Regions from separate parts of the Homo sapiens genome. Here regions 1, 2 and 4 are each linked to region 3. The links are contacts of gene promoters, found by promoter capture Hi-C in blood cells and fetal thymus (Javierre and others, 2016). All regions are on one chromosome and are shown on one strand. Each heading gives the region's core, a stretch centred on a gene start or on the middle of the fragment in contact. The rest is flanking DNA. Distances are from core to core; before and after follow the strand shown.

Region 1 (3,130 bases), core at 485-2,984, 310 kb after region 3:
GACACCAGGTTCTGACTGGGTCACCTGCCTACTTAAAACCCTTAATGTTCACTCCTTTTGGGATAAAGCCCAAACTCCTTAACGCAGCCTGGCCTCTGCCTGCCTCCCTTGCCTCATCTTACCAACAATCCTCTCTCTTTCACACTCTACAGCCACCCCAACCATGGAAGCTCCATTCCTCTGCCTACATACCTTACCCTGCGCATTTCTTCCACTCAGCTATTCCTGAGTTGTATCCTTTATAATAAATTAGTAAAGCTTCTTTAAGTTCTTCCTTCTTGTTGGGCCTCATCCTGCCTCCAGACCTTTGCACAAACTGTTTCTTCCCCTCTTTGCCTCTTATACCTCAGGTGTTAGCCCAGGCATCTCTCCGTCTACTGTGACCCCTCTGACCACCATAATTAGGTCAAATCCCCTCATGTAGACTCTTGTGGCATCACCTACTTTTCCTTAATGGCCCAGTTGCAGTTTTATTTTTGCTTTGGTTTTATTTGATTAGTGTCTGTTTCTCGGCTAGTCTGTGTGCTTGCTGTCTGGTTTTGTTTACCTCTGCAGCCTTTCCAATCCCTGGTCAGGAACAGCGCATAATATGTTTTCAATAAACATGTGTTGAATTAATCCATTAACATTTCATTCCGGTTATTGTGAGCTCCCTCAGGGCAGGACCCCTGCCTTAATGCTCTCTCCCCTCTACCCCAGCAGTGAGCCCAGGGCTGGGGCTGGGGAAGTGTGTAATGAGCATTCTGTGAGGGACAGATGACCACATGGCTGATGGATGGGAGTGCTTGTAGAAACAACCTGTCAGGGAATTAGGCAAGCAGGCCAGGAAACGTGAAAGAGCTGCAGAAGGATGTGGTCTAAGGTGGAGGCAGCCATGGCCTGATTGGGGAAGGAGGGTCTGGAGCATAAATCATAGATGGCATGGAGCAGTTGCGCCCCCTTGAGTCAAGGGGGCCAGCTTCTTGTGTGTGCATCCCAGATGGTCTTCGGGGATTGGGCTATCCTGCCAGCTGGACCCAAGATGCCAAGCTGGAAAATGATGGTCATCAGCTAAGTCTCCTCCTCCCTCCCATCTATCTATGTCCTGTGACCTGAGGGGTCCCTCCCTGACCCACTCACCGTGTTGGTTTCCTAGGGCTGCTGGAACTAACGGTCACAAACGGGTGACTTCAAACAACAGAAATGTATGGTCTCACAGTTCTGGAGGCTGAACGGCTGAAATCACAGTGGTGTCGGCCGTGTTCTCTCTGAAGGTTCTAGGGATCTCTCCTTGCCTCTTCCAGCCTCTGGAGATTGCTAGCTTCGGTTCCTTGGTTTGTGGTAGCACAACTGCAGTCTCTGCCTCCGTCTTCATATGGGCTTCTTCCTGTGCGTCTGTGTTATTTCCCTCTTCTCATAAGTCTTCTTACACCAGATGCTGGATTACAGCTCACCACAATATGATCCATCTTAACTTGATCACACCTTCAAAAAAACACCCTATTTCACACTCATTGATAGTGGAGGTGAGGACTTGCACAGATCTAGAGACTGGAGGACGTAGTTCAACCCACAACAGCTACCAACCTGGAGTGCTATAGTTGTCTGTTTTGAACCCAAGTCTCTTCTGCTCTTCTGTGTCTGAAGCTAAAGCCCTCTTCCTGGGAGTCCCTTCTGGCCCCTCTGTCTTTGTCTGAAGACAAAATGAGGAATGAGCTCCCTCCTTCCCAGAAATGCACCTTCATGGAGCCCTGCACTTCAGAGAGCTGCAGCTTTAACAGTGGCTGAAACCTCTCATGCCTTAAATATCCTCACAGCAGCCTTAACAAGGTTTATTATTTTTTAAAAATGTCACTAGGTTTTAAAATGTCACTAGGAGAACAGGTGGTGTTTGGTTACATGAATAAGTTCTTTAGTGGTAATTTCTGAGAGTTTGGTGCACCCATCACCTGAGCAGTGTACGCTGTATCCAATGTGTAGTCTTTTATCCCTCAACCCCCTCCCACCCTTTCCCCCAAGTCCCCAAAGCCCATTGTATCATTCTTATGCCTTTGCATCCTCATAGCTTAGCTCCCACTTACAAATGAGAACATACGATGTTTGGTTTTCCATTCCTGAGTTACTTCACTTAGAATAATGGTCTCCAATTCCATCCAGATTGCTGCAAATGCCATTACTTCATTCCTATACATGCATACATACACACATACCTATATATTTCATTCCTATATATACATACATACCACAATTTCTTCATCCACTCATTGATTGATGAGCATTAGGGCTGGTTCCATATTTTTGCAATTGCAAACTGTACTGCTATAAACATGCGCATACAAATATCTTTTTTGTATAATGACTTCTTGTCCTCTGGGCAGATACCCCAGGAGTGGGATTGCTGGATCAAATGGTAGTTCTACTTTGAGTTCTTCAAGGAATCTCCACACTGTTTTCCACAATGGTTTTACTAATTTACATTCCCACCAACAATGTAAAAGTGTTCCCTTTTCACCACATCCACGCCAACATCTATAATTTTTTGATTTTTTTTATCACGGTCATTTTTGCAGGAATAAGATTGTATCACATCGTAATTTTGATTTGCATTTCCCTGATCATTAGTGATGTTGAGCATTTTTTCAGAAGTTTGCTGGTCATTTGTTTATCTCTTAAGGTTTGTGGCCGGGGCGGTGGCTCATGCCTGTAATCCCAGCACTTTGGGAGGCCGAGGCGGGCGAATCATGAGGTCAGGAGTTTGAGACCTGCCTGGCCAACATAGTGAAACCCTGTCTCTACTAAAAATACAAAAAAATAGCCACGCATGGCAGCGTGCGCCTATAGTCCCAGCTACTTGGGAGGCTGAGGCAGGAGAATTGCTTGAACCCGGGAGGCGGAGGCTGCAGTGAGCCGAGATCATGCCACTGTACTCCAGCCTGGACGACAGAGCAAGACTCCGTCTCAAAAAAAAAAGAAAAAAAGAATGTTTATCATTATTCCCATTTTATAGATGAGGAAGCTGAGACTTGGGAAAGTTAACAGCCTTACACAAAGCCATGCAGCAAGGAAATGGCAGAGCAGGGACTTGAAGCAGTTCTGCCTGATGCTAGAGATCATGCCCTGAACCACTGCATTCTACTGTCTAGATGCTTCC
Region 2 (2,991 bases), core at 483-2,982, 410 kb after region 3:
TCCGGAGAGGAATGGGAGGGAGGTTGAGCTGCAGAGCCATCCATCAAGGCTGGCAGGCCCAACCATGCTGCACAGTGGGGTGCGAGAGGCGAGGGGAGAGCCACGAGGGGGGCCATGTAGACAAGCTGAGGGCCAGACGCTAGGCCCAGCCCAGCCACTGACCTGTTGTAACCCTGAATGAGTCACTGTTACCTCGGGACCTCAGTTTCTTCATCAGGACAATGGGGCTAAAGGTTTATTCTGCCTGGATAAGTTCCAGCACAGCAGGCCCAATATCAGGCCCCAGGGCCAGAAGGAGCCCTGAGGAGAATGTGAGGGGCTCGGGGGGGCCCTTGCCTCCTGTAGGTGCCTAACTCAGCCAAAGGCTCCTGAGAGACGGAGGAAGGAGATGGAGCACAGAGTCTGGGCTGGGTCTCCAAAGACCCAAGTTTGAATCCATCTCTGACCCTAATGCCTTGCTGGCCCTGGCAAGCCCCTGACTTCCCAGATCCTTCCCTGGATGCTCACCTCCACCCCACTCCCACCCCCAAACAGGCCAGACACGAGCAGAAAGGACTATCGGCATAGCCCTTGCTGATGCAAATTTCATTCAAACTGAGGGCAAAGTCACCCATGGGCTCTCCTCGCCTTTCTCGGAGGTAGTGATTACCTGGGAAAATCCTGGCCAGCAAGTCTGGGGCAAGAGGTCCCAGCTAGAGTCCAGCAGGACCCAAGCAGAGCCTGTACTCTCAGTCTGTCTCTAGTGACTTAAGCTTGAGCAAGTCACTTTCCCACCCTGGGCCTGTTTCCCCATCTCTAAAATGAACCCTCCCATTTAAAAATCAAAGAAGCAACAACAAAAATCTTCAGGGCTCCTCTTCCCCCAGGGACAAACTTCAAACTCCTCACTGCATCCACTCTCTCCCAGTCCTTCTCGAGCCTCGATTCCTCCCACGTTCTCTGCTCCGCATCTCACACTTAGGCCACTCTGAACATCTGTCGCTCCCCCATCCCACGCTGCTTCATCTCTGACCCTGCCTCTCTACTGAAAACCTCCTCCCCACTCATCAGGGTCAGCAGCCACTTGCACAGCCCCTGGCCCAGCTGGGTCAGGCCCTCTCACCAAGCCATCAGTGGTCCCCACACACCTTCCCTGAGGCCTAGACCAGAAGGTGGCTGTCCCCCACCTCACTCAGCTCCCCGGGGTGAGGGCTGAGCCTGGCTTTATTCCCAGAGGAGGGGAAAAGGGTTGGCAGCCCAGGGCCTCAAACAGGAACAAGGCTCAGAAGAAGTGGGAGGAGGGGAAAGAGGAGGGATGGAGGAATGAAAAGAAAGGGGGAAGGAAGGAGAGAAACAACTGTCCCCAAGGTCCCTCTGGATGGAACAATCTGAATGAACTCCAGTCCATGCCAGATGCAGCCCCATGCCCCGGCCCCTGCCCCTCCCACTCCTCCATCTCCCTCAGGCCCCAGCCCCGCTCACACACGCCAGTACAAAGGCCCAGAGCCAAAGGGGTCTCTGGCCTCTGCGGCTGAGCCCTGACTGGAGGCTAAGAGTGCCATGTGGTTGTCATAGCGATGCTGGATGCTGTCATCACTAATTCATCACCTGAACCCTGGAAGGCCTATGAGGTGTGAGGAGAGCTGGTCAGAGCTGATCAGAGCAGCCACTGGACATAGGCGTCTTAGGATCTTGGATCTGGGGGAGGAGCAGGGATTGAACTCCATCACCCCAATCCAGCTGTGCCCTTCCCTCAGCCTCCCAACACCCTGGTAAAACAAGCACAGACCTGCCCCCATCTGTTATGTGCACCTACTGTGTGTCCAGCTTGGTCCAACTGCAGAGGCAGCCTCAGTGAAGGCCATGATGGGAGCCTCCCACCCAGCCTCTGTGAGCAGGGCAGGGCATGTCCCTCCTGATGTCACAGGAGCTGAGGAGGGGTGGAGGGAAGAGGGAGGGAGTTCATATGTTGTGCCTTCTCCTGGCAGGCATGTACCAGGCATCTTTAAAATGTAACTCATTTAATCCTCCCAGAAAACCTGCAGGGTCAGAATCATTACTCCATTTTACGGATGCCGGATGTCTTCTCAGCTAATCCTCCCATCCAATCCTCTGGGAAGCCTTTCAGGATGCCCCACCCCGACTTATCGCTGCCTTCTCTGAACTGCCAGCAATGGTGGGTGAGGGTTCTGGTCTCCCCCATCAGATTGGGCTGGGAGCTCCTCCTCCTCCCACCCCAGGTTATGGAGGAAACAAGGGCAGATCTTCCCACCTAGCTACCCTCCTGGCAGCCAGAAGACCACCCTCATCCAAGCAGGCTGGAGCTGTGGTTCTGATCCCTCCCAGGACTTTCCCTGGAAGTCACCACCTCCTCAGCCTGGAGGAGAAATGCCAGACTCCCACCTGTGAGGCACCCCTGCAACCTCCCCACCTGCCCCCCCACACACCCTAGATTTTTTCTGTTTTAAATTTTTTTGAAGTAGAGATGGGATCTCGCTAAGTTACCCAGGCTGGTCTTGAACTCCTGGCCTCAAGTGATCCTCCCGCCTCAGCTTCCCAAAGTGCTGGGGATTACAGGCATGAGACACCACACCCAGCCCACACTGCCTATTTTCTTCACTCACAACCTCAGGAAAATGAACTTTTTTTTGGAGCAGGAGAATGGGAACAAAATTAACACGCAGTCACACAACAAAGCATTTACTGAACACCTACTTTGTGCAGTCCTATGAATGAAGCTTGAGATACAACAATGAACAACACAAACCAAACCTAATCCCTGCCTTTGTGGGCTTTTGGTCTAGCAGAGTCAGCACCGAGTCTTCTAATTTTTTTTTTCTTTTAAGAGACAGGGTCTCCCTATGTTTCCCAGGCTGGTCTCAAAACTACTGGGCTGAAGCACTCTGTCTCAGCCTCCCAAAGTACTGGGATTACAGGTGTGAGCCGCTGTGCCCAGCTGAGCACAAAGTCTTGCTTTGCACATTTTAACCCACTCAATCCTTATAATATGCA
Region 3 (3,020 bases), core at 79-2,578:
ATGGAGATGGGGTTTCACCATGTTGGTTAGGCTGGTCTTGAACTCTTGACCTCAAGTGATCCACCCGCCTTGGCCTCCCAAAGTGCTGGGATTACAGGCATGAGCCACCGCGCCTGGCCCTTAGGCCCCAGTCTTCTACTTGGGTCCCCGGCAGTCTTCCCAGGAGGGAAGGCGATAAGATTACATAGGGCAGGCTGGGACTCTAATCAGAGGGCTGAGATGACTGAGAAGCTCAGTGAGGTTGAGGGTTTGGACAGGGACTTGGATCTAAAGTCTTGGGGATGCAGGAGCTGCTTCCGGGTTCTACAGAACTCTAGCTGGGAGAGTCTGGGGGAATGGGGAAATACAAGTGGCTTAAAAACCCGGGCCCCTTTATTGCGGGCTACGGGATCTGGTTTTGGTGGCTACAGAAGGGTTCGGTCCCAGGCAGCGTGGGTCCAAGACAGGGCAGGAGGGGCCTGATGGCCACGCGAGCTCTAGGAAGCTTCCCGTCTGGGCAGCTCAGCTGCCTGGAGAGGTCCTTGCTGGGGGTCATGCATCTCGTGGGGCAGCGGTGATGGGGTGGGGTGATAAGTGGTGATAGGGCTGGGCTGGGAGCCTTTTTCAAAGATCCAGCGCTTGTAGAGGTTTAGTGGTCAGTCTTTGCAGGTGGTGAGGGGAAGGCCTGGTAAGGGGCCCAGAGCTGGATGGGGATATATTTCCTTGACCTGAAGGGCACGAGACAGAGATTTGGCAACGAGAAAAAGGAACAGGAGAGATGAGAGGGTGAGGCTCATTCCTGCGGAGGAGAACCTCGTATTCTGGGGGTCTCTCGGGGCATTGGAGGGTCTGGCCAAGGCAGGAATGGGGGCGGCTGAGGGGGACAGTCGCATTCACTTGGCGAGCGGGCCCAGGGATTCTGCAGGAATTGGAGGGAGGGTTGGGCCGGGGCTGCGCTCACCTGCCGAGTAGGGCGCGGGCTGGTGGTCGCGTAGGGCGCCAAGTGCGCAGTTGGAGGAGCCGAGCGCGGGGCAGGGCGGCCCTGCCGCGGGGAAAGCGGGCCGCAGGGGGCTGTATTGGAAGCCGCCGGGCTGGCTGCAGGCGCCAAAGTCGCCGTAGGCGGACGCCTCCATGGCCGCCACGCACGAGTCGTACGAATTGAGGTAGGAGTAGTCCATCGGCCCGGGGGGCGGGGGCGGGGGCCGGGCCAGGCCGGGTCGGGGTCGGGGTCCGGGTGGAGGTCGGAAGGGAGGTTCGAGCGCCAGGCTCCGAGGACCCGAGGCCAGCTCTGAGCGCCCGAGAGTCCGCCCGCCCCGTCGCGGCCGCACTCAGCCCGGGTGCAACGCAAGTGCAGCCAGCCCGGCCCGCGCGCCTTTTAACGCGCAGGACCCCGCGGAGGGGGGCGGGGCGGGGCGAGCTCCGAAGGGGCGGGGCCTAGGAGGCCCAGACACCGCCCAAAGCCGCCCCGACCCCCACCCCGAAGGGTCCCCGCCGCCGTCTTAGGGCTCAGAGGTGTGGAGCTGGGATGCGCGGGACCCTATCCCCGGAGTCCCTATCCTGCCCCAATCCGGACCAGACCTTCGGTCTCTACACAGCGTCCGAGGCCAGAGGGTCCCGACCCTTTTCCCGGGCCTCCCCACCTGCGGCCCCGCGGAAGGGAGGGGAGGCAGGCCTGGCGGCGCTCGTGTGAAGAAGTTAATTCAATTCGCTCTGATAACCGAGTTATTCCGATCTGGCCCCTCAGCCCCGCCCCCAGCGAGGTCCCATCCCGGCGGAGACTGCGGAGGCGGCCCAGGAAGGGGGATGGAGACCGGGAAGAGACGGAGCCTGGGATGGGGACAGGGAAGGGACGTGGATAGACAGAGGAAACAGAGACCGGGAGAGAAAGGGGCAGAAACAGTGATGGAGACAGGGACAAGAGATACAGGTACACAGAGGGAGACAAGGACGGAACATACACAGCGAAAGACAGGATGGAGCGGGGACAGGGCAGAGACAGGAGATGAGGGTAAGAGAGAGACAGGATGGAGCGGGGACAGGGCAGAGACAGGAGATGAGGTTAAGAGAGAGACAAGAGGAGACAGGGAGACAGGGGGACGAGAAAGAGAGTGAGGGAGGCATGGAGACAGAAGGGGTCGGGATGAGACATGGACGGCAACCAGGACTGCGGTGGAGAGCAAGGGAGGGATGAGACAAAACAGAGGCAGGAATCGTGAGACAGACACATATGCCCAGGGACAGTCTGAGAGAGACAGGGCCAGGGACAGCCACAAGCGCGGGAGCAGAGGCTGAGAGCGGAGAGAAAACGCCTCCGGGGAGCTTAGACACGAGGGCTGGAGCGCAGAGGGGCCCAGGGATGATGCTGGAGGCTCTGGGGTGCGGCCTCCACGGGGCTGCGGAGAGGGAGGGTCGTGGGAGCCAGGTCCCTCTACCCTGACTTGTCCCGAGGCCCACACGACCTTGCACCTTCAGGGCCCGCCTGCCTCTCCCCCCGTTCCCTCAGCTCCATCTGCAGTATGCGACCCTCTCCTGTGACCTTGGGCTCAGGATGCGATGGATGTCAGAAAGGGAACGTACCCCGTGACCTCTTTATTGTTCTTCAGTCTCTTACCCCTGTTCTCCAGGGCCCCCCGCTTTTTTTCTCCAGGGAAACCACCTAGACTCAGTCTGCACCTGGCCCAGACATCCCTGCACAGATTCAGTCACCAGCTCCCTCGTGCTGTGGGACAGCGGGACACATTCAGAATCCTTACCAAGAGAAGGGAACAGATAACTTTTCCGTCGCTCCTGAGCTGGGTTGGGCAGCTCGTCCACTCAACCCCCAGCCTCTTCCACCGATCTTGGCAGGTCTTGTAGATGGGGAGTCCTAGACCCATGGAGAAGCCGCGGGAAGGGCGTGTCTTTGTTTCCAGCTGAAGTCCTTGGGGGTTGATAGAAGGACTCCTGGAATTCTCCCCAAGTTTGTCAGGACAGAGGGGAGTGCGCCTCTCCTCAGGTAATCCTTCCCCCATCATCCGTTCTGGGCTTCCCAGGAGGACTCT
Region 4 (3,255 bases), core at 672-3,171, 280 kb before region 3:
ATCGATTGACTTGTTAATTAACAGTTTATCACAGTTGCAAGCAACAATTTAGTAAGCTTCTCATACATAAATTACCTGCATACCTGTGCAAGCAGTTTTATAGAATGCACTCCTAGAAATGAAATTGCCTGGTCAAAAAATATATGTGTTTTAATTATTAGTGGAACTTGCCAAATTGCCCTCCAAGAAAGTTATAGCTATTATAGTTTACAATCCATCAACACAGATTTAACAGAGCTGTTACCCAGTGTTAAAGAAGGTGTAGGGTATAGTCAGTATTTTTAATCTTTGTCAGTGTGATAAGGTGAAAATACCTGATTTTATTAAGTATTTCTCTGATTATTAGTGAAGTTGAGCATGTTTTCATGCTTAGTGGTCATTTGGCTTCTTTCAATTATTTGTTCATATCATTGACTAGATTTATATTTGATACATTTTTTTTGAGACAGAGTTTCCCTCTTGTTGCCCAGGCTGGAGTGCAATGGCACAATCTCAGCTCACCACAACCTCTGCCTCCCAGGTTCAAGTGATTCTCCTGCCTCAGCATCCCGAGTAGCTGGGATTACAGGCGTGCGCCACCATGCCCAGCTAATTTTGTATTTTTAGTAGAGACAGGGTTTCTCCACGTTGGTCAGGCTGGTCTCGAATGCCTGACCTCAGGTGATCCGCTCACCTTGGCCTCCCAAAATGCTGGGATTACAAGTGTGAGCCGCCGTGCCTGGCCTGATATTTCCATTTTTATCGAAGTAATACATACCATAGTTTTAAAAGTCAGATAGTTCTACAAGACTTCAGAAGCAAAACACATTGGTCCCCTGCCCAACTCTGTCAGTCGCTGATTCTTCTGTGGCAACTACTTTTATTAATAACTTTTTTAGTTCATTTCTGATACTTTTTTTTTTTAAGATACAGGATCTCAGTCTGTCACCCAGGCTGGAGGGCAGCAGCTCCATCATAGCTCACTGCAGCCTCAAACACCTGGGCCCAGGCAATCCTCCTGCCTCAGCCTCCCAAGTAGCTAGGACTACAGGTACACACCACCACGCTTGGCTAATATATATATATTTTAATTTTTTGTAGAGTTGGCTCTCACTATATTGCCCAGGCTGGTCTTGAATTCCTGGCCTTAAGTGATCCTCTTGCCTTAGCTTCCCAAAGTGTTGGGATTATAGCATGAGCCACCACAATTGGCCTTGCGTTTTTTAAATAACATGTTTATACTGATGTATAAATTTCTACTTTATTATATTTAAATATAATATTTGTGGGTTTTTTGTTTTTTTTTTTTGAGACGGAATCTCACTCTGTCACCCAGGCCGGACTGCGGACTGCAGAGGCGCAATCTCGGCTCACTGCAAGCTCCGCTTCCCGGGTTCACGCCATTCTCCTGCCTCAGCCTCCCGAGTAGCTGGGACTACAGGCACCCGCCACCGCGCCCGGCTAATTTTTTGTATTTTTAGTAGAGACGGGGTTTCACCTTGTTAGCCAGGATGGTCTCGATCTCCTGACCTCATGATCCACCCGCCTCGGCCTCCCAAAGTGCTGGGATTACAGGCGTGAGCCACCGCGCCCGGCCAATATTTGTGTTTTTTAAATAACATGTTTATACTGATATAAATTTCTACTTTATTATATTTAAATATAATATTTATGTTTTTTAAATAACATGTTTATACTGATGTATAAATTTCTACTTTTAAATATTATATATTGACTTCCTACTTTGGAAGGTAATAATTATGTGGGTTTTTTTTGTTTTTTTTTTTTTTTTTTGAGACGGAGTCTCACTCTGTCACCCAGGCTGGAGTGCAATGGCATGGTCTCGGCTCACTGCAATCTCTGCCTTCTGGGTTCAAGCGATTCTTCTGCCTCAGCCTCCCAAGTAGCTGGGACTACAGGTTCATGCCACCACACCCAGCTAATTTTTGTATTTTTAGTACAAATGTATTTTAGTACAAAATACAATAGTATTTAGTATTTTGTATTTAGTACAAATGTATTTTTGTATTTTTAGTACGTGGTTTCACCATGTTGGCCAGGATAGTCTCGATCTCCTGACCTCGTGATCTGCCCACCTTGGCCTCCCAAAGTGTTGGGATTACAGACATGAGCCACTGTGCCTGGCGGTAATAATTATCTTTTACTGCTATACCTATACCCGTTACATACTACAAACATTTCCTCCTCCCAATTTTTAAATAAATATTCATTGTTTACATTATTAAGTATTATATGTAAGTATTATTCACAAGATGTATTATTCACAGCTTGAGCCATATGATATATTTGGTACATTTTCTTTCCTTTGCTCAGGTTTCTTTTGGAATGTTTCTTACTGATTTGTAAGAGCTCTTTGTAGGTCAGGAATAAGCCTTCTGACATAATTTGCTACGGATATCTTTCCCCAGTTTGTCATTTGATTTTATTTGTAGAATTGGTAGAAAAATTTTTATAGATTAGATTTATGAACGATCTTTTTTTTTTTAAGATGAAGTCCTGCTCTGTCGCCCAGTTTGGAGTGCAGTGGCATGCTCTCGGCTCACTGCAACCTCTGCCCCCGGTTCAAGCGATTCTCCTGCCTCAGCCTCCCAAGTAGCTGGGATTACAGGCTCCTGCCACCATGCCTAGCTAACTCTTTGTATTTTAGTAGAGAAGGGGTTTCACCATGTTGGCCAGGCTGATCTCGAACTCTGGACTTCAAGTGATCAAACTGCCTCGGCCTCGCAAAGTGCTGGGATGACAGGTGTGAGCCACTGCCCCCAGCCCAATTTATGAACGATCTTGTTGGCTAAGTACTCTATTGTTTGCTATTCTGTTTGGATGGCCCATCTTGCTGTTCCTGATTTTCTATCCTGGTTCTTATAAAGTTCTTCTGCCTGCCTAGGCATATTTTAGGTAATAGCCATAGCTACCAATTTTACAATTCTTGTGGACCTCTCATTCTCAAATCTGCTGTAGGTTAAAGGTCAGTTCTAGAGAGGAGAAGCAGAGCATAAATATAGTTGGGACATTACCACCTATGTAATTACGTAGACATAATTAATAACACTAGCTAGCATTTATTGAGTACTGTCTATTTATTTGTTCAGTCAGTAGATATTCGTTGATCCTTTCTAGTCCCACGCTGGGGCTGTGCTCAGTTATATTGTTTCCTTTGTGGAGAAACAACTTTGAAAAACAGTTTCAAACTGTTTTTAAATTAAACTCCCTATGATCTGGGAGTTTAATTCCTAGATATATGCCAAGAGAAGATTT

What was found. Contacts are between HindIII fragments. The CHiCAGO score rates a contact against its expected background, and 5 or more counts as called.
Region 1: a fragment that was not itself captured here is called in contact with the fragment with the promoter of PHOX2A in region 3 in 1 of 17 cell types (M1 macrophages); the score reaches 5.9 in M1 macrophages.
Region 2: a fragment that was not itself captured here is called in contact with the fragment with the promoter of PHOX2A in region 3 in 3 of 17 cell types (endothelial precursors, M0 macrophages and M1 macrophages); the score reaches 6.8 in endothelial precursors.
Region 4: a contact is called between a fragment that was not itself captured here and the fragment with the promoter of PHOX2A in region 3, in 2 of 17 cell types (megakaryocytes and naive CD4 T cells). The highest score is 5.6, in megakaryocytes.

Annotation. Positions count from the first base shown.
Region 1 is chr11:72,553,008-72,556,137 of GRCh38, forward strand. No RefSeq gene overlaps it. Among named protein-coding and RNA genes, the nearest start is that of LINC01537, 16 kb to the right of the region's middle. The HindIII fragment of the contact is 2,956 bases long and covers 257-3,130 here.
Region 2 is chr11:72,656,056-72,659,046 of GRCh38, forward strand. The region is part of intron 1 of PDE2A (phosphodiesterase 2A); the gene reads right to left. Among named protein-coding and RNA genes, the nearest start is that of PDE2A-AS1, 3.2 kb to the right of the region's middle. RefSeq lists an enhancer at 602-1,103. The HindIII fragment of the contact is 1,965 bases long and covers 751-2,715 here.
Region 3 is chr11:72,242,848-72,245,867 of GRCh38, forward strand. PHOX2A (paired like homeobox 2A) reads right to left here and starts at 1,329. Exons shown (of 3, transcript NM_005169.4): 1 at 941-1,329. The coding sequence starts at 1,157. The HindIII fragment of the contact is 4,541 bases long and covers 483-3,020 here.
Region 4 is chr11:71,965,595-71,968,849 of GRCh38, forward strand. The region is part of intron 3 of RNF121 (ring finger protein 121); the gene reads left to right. Among named protein-coding and RNA genes, the nearest start is that of IL18BP, 32 kb to the right of the region's middle. The HindIII fragment of the contact is 3,735 bases long and covers 55-3,255 here.